2 separate regions of the Homo sapiens genome follow, and region 1 is linked to region 2. Evidence: promoter capture Hi-C in human tissues and cell types (Jung and others, 2019). All regions are on one chromosome and are shown on one strand. The core of a region is centred on a gene start or on the middle of the fragment in contact, and the rest is flanking DNA. Distances in the headings are between cores, read along the strand shown. Region 1 holds the start of TRIM55 (tripartite motif containing 55). Region 2 overlaps LOC102724687 (a long non-coding RNA gene).

Region 1 (3,534 bases), core at 550-3,049, 250 kb before region 2:
GCTCCTTGAGGCCAATGACCTATGTCTTGTTCATCTTTCAATACCCAGAGCCTCACACAATGGAGACACACTACACATATCCAATGAATGTATTTTGAAGGAATGAATTCCTTCTAAAAGAAAAGACTCTGCTGCAATGTGCATGATTAGTCTAAGTGCTTTTACTTAGATAGCAAGGTCTTTTGCAGTAGAAACTTAATCTTTCCTAGAAAATATCCCACATATTGTACTCAGACCTCCCCTCCATAGCCCATGAATTGATAAACACAATTAACTGCCTAGGCTGGGTGAACCAAAGTAACTCAGTAAAAAAACTTTACCAGTTCCCGTCCTCCCTGTAGTTGCTAAATAAATATTGAAAGGACTAAGATAATTCTCTAAAGATCCCTGATATGCTTATGAATATATATAACTTATTATTAGTTAATAGAGCTTACTAGATTCTCAATAAGCTCTCCGTGCACACAGCACTAAGACCACACATAACTGACCTACACTTCACTGGTAATTTAATTCACACCAGGGATATGTTAACAAAATGTGTTTATTGCCCAAGGTTTTTAAAATGAAGGAGAAAGAAAGCCGAAATTTATCACATATAAACAGACTTGGATTTCTTTTTTATTTTTGATCTGATTTAAACATTTTTAAATACAATATGTATTGGTTAAACTGTTGCTTCACAAAATCCTGATGAATGTCAGAATCGATGTTTATGACTCAAGAGCAGACCAAGAATATCAGAAATGACCAGAGAAACTATGGTTTAACAAGTCACCTTGGAGGAAGGGGAAATGCAAGGGAGAATAGGTATTTTGGAGGCAGATGAAATGCAGATATGGAAGTAGGACTCCATTTATACTTCAGTTGTCAATGGCACTGGTAACTGTCCCCCAAGGGATGACAAAATAAAATAATAGATCTGCCACCTCCAGGTGCCTGCCAGTTACTACCTCATTACAGATTATTGTTGCAAACTATTATATAATTTAAGAATTTAAATAATCAGTAAAAGACTATCAAATTTTCTTTGTGTTTTTGGGTGTATGTAGGAGGTGGGGCAGTATAGGATGAAAGAGGGCCAAGGAAGAGGAAAGCAATGTGGAAGAGCAAACAGCATACTAGAGTTGTTTTATAATGTAACTTTTTTCTCAAATAATTAGATCATCCACTGGTTTTGAATTTTTATTTATGCATGTATTTATTTATTTATTAGGTGGATACCTTTATGGTGAAGGGATTTGAATTTAGCTTTTAAATTGGAATTTTTCAAAGACCACAACCCCAGCTGACAAAGATGAAATACTTAACATTAAGAAAGTCTTTTTGATGATTGCCTTTGTGAAGCCAGGATAACAATTTTCGAGACATGTTTTGTTCATTTTCACCTAAGAAGGTGCTATTAGGCTACTTTCCGTGACTCAATTCCTACACTCTCAAGACAGGGCTGGCATTAGTTACACAGACTCTGTGCTGCGTTCTGCCCCTTCCTGGAGAAGCCATCGCCAAGTTCTCAGTGAGTGCTCACAGAGGGCATGGTTCAGTGGCTAGGCATGCACATTTGCATTTGTTGTTGACAACTGTCAGCTTCGACCTCCTTCTCCTCACAACCCCGTCTAAATGGGGTTTGTAATCCTCCTTCCCACCCACTCTCTTCACTCCCTGGGGCAAGAATGTTGACTCCTGCTCTCCGTCACCTGTCAGGATCCATCCTCCTGTCACTGGCTTATATGGACACGTCAGCCCACCGTCACGTGACCGCAGGCTGCTAAAAACAGCTCCAGCACCCACTCCAAACCAGGGCCTGAAACAATGTCCTCCACCGAGAGAAACGTAAAGGACACTTGATCACACAATCCCTGGAATAATATCCAGGAAACACTTGCTGGAGCCACTCGCAGCACCCTTCCCTGGCAGCACACTTGGGGACAGCGAGGAGATGAGCGCATCTCTGAATTACAAATCTTTTTCCAAAGAGCAGCAGACCATGGATAACTTAGAGAAGCAACTCATCTGTCCCATCTGCTTAGAGATGTTCACGAAACCTGTGGTGATTCTCCCTTGTCAGCACAACCTGTGTAGGAAATGTGCCAGTGATATTTTCCAGGTAGGTTTGTTTGGAATTTGGTTGAGGGGAGGGGGTGGAAAAGATTCCCTCCTCTTGGAATCAAGTGCTTAACATTGAGGTGAAATCCTTTAAAAAACTTTATAAGGTTGCCGGGCGCTTTGGCTCACGCCTGTAGTCCCAGCACTTTGGGAGGCTGAGGCCAGTGGATCACCTGAGGTCAGGCCTTCGAGACCAGGCTGGCCAACATGGCAAAACCCCATCTCCACTAAAAATACAAAAAAAAAAAAATTAGCTGGGCATGGTGGCGGGCACCTATAATCTCAGGTACTTGGGAGGCTGAGGCAGGAGAATTGCTTGAACCCAGGAGGCGGACATTGCAGCGAGCGGAGATCGTGCCATTGCCCTCCGGCCTGGGCAACAGAGCAAGACTCTGTCTCAAAAAAAGAAAAACAAACAAACAAAAAAACTTTATAAAGTTGCATTTACTTTCAAGAAAAACACGTTTCTTTTAATGATTTGGTTTGTGTCCTCTTTACTCCCAAATCTAGTTTTATTTTAATACTAAGAATCATATTTTTTTTTAAGTCAAACCATTTAATGTGTTTCAAAACTATAAATGAGTAACTGCTGAAGACATGAGTGTGGAGTTTCTGGCTGGAACTTTTGGTTCTGAAAGTGGTGGACGGAAAAGCACCTTACGTGGACAATGGTATATTCGCAGATGACTGTGGATAAGGTCTGACCCTGTGTTTCAGGACCACTTGCTGAGAAAGCCCTGAGGGATGATCTTATGGCAAGCTTAAAGTAGAAGTTCATGTTGTTTGTAGTAGCAGAGAGTGAAAATAAGTCTCAGAGAAGCTGCTTGTGGCATTACCCAATTCCTTTTTTCTTACTTGGCAAGAACAGGCCTCTAACCCGTATTTGCCCACAAGAGGAGGTACCACCATGGCATCAGGGGGCCGATTCCGCTGCCCATCCTGTAGACATGAAGTGGTTTTGGATAGACATGGGGTATATGGACTTCAGAGGAACCTGCTGGTGGAAAATATCATTGACATCTACAAGCAGGAGTCCACCAGGTAACACTCTTCCACTCTTCCATGTGTCAAGCCCATCTGAAACTTGTTTTTGTTTGTTTGTTTTAATGGGTTGCTACGCTGAATGCTTGTTTATCAATCACAGACTGTTTTATGGAAAAATGGTTTTCCAAGTCAGTCCTTCCCAGTGAGACTGAGAGTTGCTCACAGCAGGAGAGAGGGGAGTTGGTGCCCATGCTTTTGTATCAATTTAAGAATGAAGTGACTCATTAACACCAATCCATTCCAGATGGTGATGCTGAAAGAGACATACTGCTGTCCCCCTCCACCTTAAAGCCTGGTATTACATCCATTTTACACATTTTGCACTTCACAGGCACTTTGTAGCTCCAGATCCCTACAAAGCAAAGAAAAAAAAATCTAGTAAAT
Region 2 (3,387 bases), core at 647-3,146:
CAGGACAATGGAATTGTTATTTTGGGCTTTTCTTTCAGTGTCATTTCACTGTATTAGATAGATAAATGAGATGGCCTAATTATGGGTTAAAAATCATAGATATCACACCTGTAATCCCAGCACTTTGGGAGGCCAAGGCAGGCAGATCACCTGAGGTCAAGAGTTTGAGATCAGCCTGGCCAACATGGTGGAACCCCATCTCTACCCAAAAAAAACAAATACAAAAATTAGCTGGACCTAGTGGAGCACACCTGTAGTCCCAGCTACTCAGAAGGCTCAGGCAGGAAAATCGCTTGCACCCAGAAGGGGAGATTGCAGTGAACCGAGATTGTGCCACTGCACTCCAGACTGGGCGAAAGAGCGAGACTCTGTCTCAAAAAAAAAAAAGTGAAGGACACATGTAGATCCTCAAATTGTTTCTTCTAATCATCAAATTAGGATTTCTGTTAACTTTAAGTTACAAATCATGAGCAATTATATATGCATAATGAAACTATGAATACAAGCCTATAATCATAGCAGAACTGAGAAATATAAACATCCATGCACATTCAAATAATTACATTGTTGATCTTGATCATTTGAAATTCTGTATCAACAGAGGCATGTCTTTCTGGGTCAAAAAGCTAGATATAGAAAAAGGGAACTCCTAGGGACAGGATTTATGCTTTTCCCAATGCCTGATACCATACTTGGCATATGCTAGATGCTCAAGAAATAATCACTGGACAAATGAATTAATTAGTGAAAATTATATCTCTATCTTTCCTCTACTCCCAAATTCCATCACAAACTGGATGGCTCATTGCTACCTTAAACTCAACAAGATTCAACCCAGGCCAGGCATGGTAGCTCACAGCTGTAATCCTAACACTTTAGGAGACCAAGGCATGTGGATCACCTGAGATCAGAAGTTTGAGACCAGCCTAGACAACATGGCAAAACCCCATCTCTACGAAAAATACAGAAGCTAGCCAGGCATGGTGGTTCATGCCTGTAATCCCAGCTACTCAGGAGGCTGAGGCAGGAGAATTACTTGAACCTAGAGAAGTGGAGGTTGCAGTGAGCCAAGATCGCACCACTGCACTCCAGCCTGGGTGACAGAGTGAGACTCTGTCACACACACACACACAAAAAATCCTTTTTTCATGATTTTCTATTTCTATCAATTTTCTGAGTCACCCAAGCTCAAGTCTGCATTTGGTTTTTCATCTCATACTTAGTCACTTTCTATCAGTTACCAATTCCTATTGATGGTTTTTAAAGGGTAAACCTCACATCTGTTCCTTCTTTTTTCATTCATTCCACTGTTGACCATCTAAGAACATGAACCAATGTTTCTCCTTATGTCTGTGATCATTTTGCTCCCTGGGGCATAGGGAGGTGCTTCCTTCATGAGATGAACTGTCTAAACATTTTAGCCTAGCATGTTCAGCATGACCAGAACAGACACCACATGATCAGATCCAGAATTACCTTTCCAGCCCTAATCTGTACAGGTATGTTACATATACTTTATTTCCTGATTCCTCTGGATTAGTTGTCCCCCTCTCCAGACTCTGCTGCTTTACTCGAGCCTGGAGAGTCTTATGTACCCTTGATATCCAGCTCAAATATTTCCTCATCCATAAGTCCTCAGTGACTGCCATCCAGAGTAAGCACATCCTTGTCTTAATCTGCTCAAGCTGCTATAACAAAATGCCTTAAACTGGGTAATTTATAAACAACAGAAATTTATTGTCCACAGTTCTGGAGACTGGAAGTCCAAGATCAAGGTGCCAGCAGATTCAGTGTCTGGTGAAGGCCTTTTCCTCATAGATGTGTCCTCACATAGGAGAAGGGGAAACAGGCTCTTTCAAGCCTCTTTTTTTTTTTTTTTTTTTTTTTTGAGACGGAGTCTTGCTGTTGCCCAAGCTGCTGGATGCAGTGGCATGATCTCAGCTCACTGCAACCTCCACCTCCCAGATTCAAGAGATGCTCGTGCCTCAGCCTCCCGAGTAGCTGGGACTATAGGTGTGCACCAACATGTCCATTAATTTTTGTATTTTTAGTAAAGATGGAGTTTCACCACATTGGCCAGGCTGGTCTCAAACTCCTGGCCTCAAGTGATCTGCCCACCTCGGCCTCCCGAAGTGCTGGGATTACAGGCATGAGCCACCATGCCTGGCCCAAGCCTCTTTTACAGTTGCACTAATCCCATTCATGAGTGTGGAACCCTTATGACCTAATCACTTCCTAAAGGCCCACCTCTTAATGTCACCAAATTGGGGATTTGGTTTCAACGTGAATTTTGAAGAGACATAAAATTCAAACCACAGCACCCCTCCATAAATTCCCAGACTACTTAAATCAAGTCTCTCTTAAGAAACTTACCACATTTGACTTTGCATTTTTAAAGATTATGCACTTATTTTGATCATCCTCACTAGGTCATAAATTCATCTACTTGTTAAAAAACACGCATAGAATACTTATTGTGCTCAAGGAACTGGGATAGACAGTGATGCTTCAGCAATGAAGAAGACAGTCACAGTCTCTTCCCTGATGAAGCTTCCTTTGCAGCAAAAGAAATGGGAATTTTCAAAAAACCGTAAAAAAGCCAGAGCAAATGAAGGAGAAAGTAAATGAGGCAAATGCAGAAATGTGGACAGAACCTGCCTATGAAGGGGCCTTGTAGGTTATGATAAAGAATGTAGTATTCTTCTCAATGTGCAGGAAGCCATTGATGGGCTTTCTGCAGAGGAAAGACATATTGGGCTTGGGTTTGTCAGAGGCTTCACTGGCTGCTATGTGGAGAAGAGGCTGTAGAGAAACTAGTTAAGCAGACTACTCGCATATCTAGGCAAATATCAATCGTGGCTTACTCTAGAGTGGTAACAGTGAAGATGCAGAAAAGTAGAGGCATCAGAGGTACTCTCTAGAGATAAAGCCTGCAGAATTTGTTCACGGATTGAACGTAGGAGAAAGGAAAACAAGAATTAAGATTGAGTCCTAGCTTTTTGACCTGAGCAACTCTGTGGATGCCATTTACTGAGTAGAATATGTTGAAGAAAGAACCAAGGTGATGAGTGATGAATAGAGAGGCTTGAGCATGTTTGAATGCTGATGGAAATCAGCCATTGGAGAGAAGGCGAGTGAAGATACAGGGTAAAGAAGGAATCAATCTTTAGTGGGCCCCAGAGTTGCAAAGTCTGGGCTACCTGCCAACATGGGCACTTAGGGGCTAAGTGTCACTAAGTTCATGGAACCTTAGACCATACACTTCGGCCAGTCAGGATGGAGGGAACACTGGGTTATACATGCATGAAAGAGAGGATGAGTCTGTTCAATGACCACAATTCTCAATCCTAATCTTGACATCTTTCAGAAGCAACACTAAAGGAAGAA

Evidence for each region. Contacts are between HindIII fragments. The study calls those that stand out against the background at their distance.
Region 1: a contact is called between the fragment with the promoter of TRIM55 here and a fragment that was not itself captured in region 2, in 1 of the 25 tissues and cell types used here (lymphoblastoid cells).

Annotation. Positions count from the first base shown.
Region 1 is chr8:66,125,330-66,128,863 of GRCh38, forward strand. It overlaps TRIM55 (tripartite motif containing 55), which reads left to right and starts at 1,800. Exons shown (of 10, transcript NM_184085.2): 1 at 1,800-2,107; 2 at 2,975-3,147. The coding sequence starts at 1,940. RefSeq lists a silencer at 1,346-1,618. The HindIII fragment of the contact is 11,068 bases long and covers 1-3,402 here.
Region 2 is chr8:66,370,345-66,373,731 of GRCh38, forward strand. All of the region lies in intron 1 of LOC102724687 (a long non-coding RNA gene), which reads right to left. Among named protein-coding and RNA genes, the nearest start is that of RRS1-DT, 57 kb to the right of the region's middle. The HindIII fragment of the contact is 6,849 bases long and covers 1-3,387 here.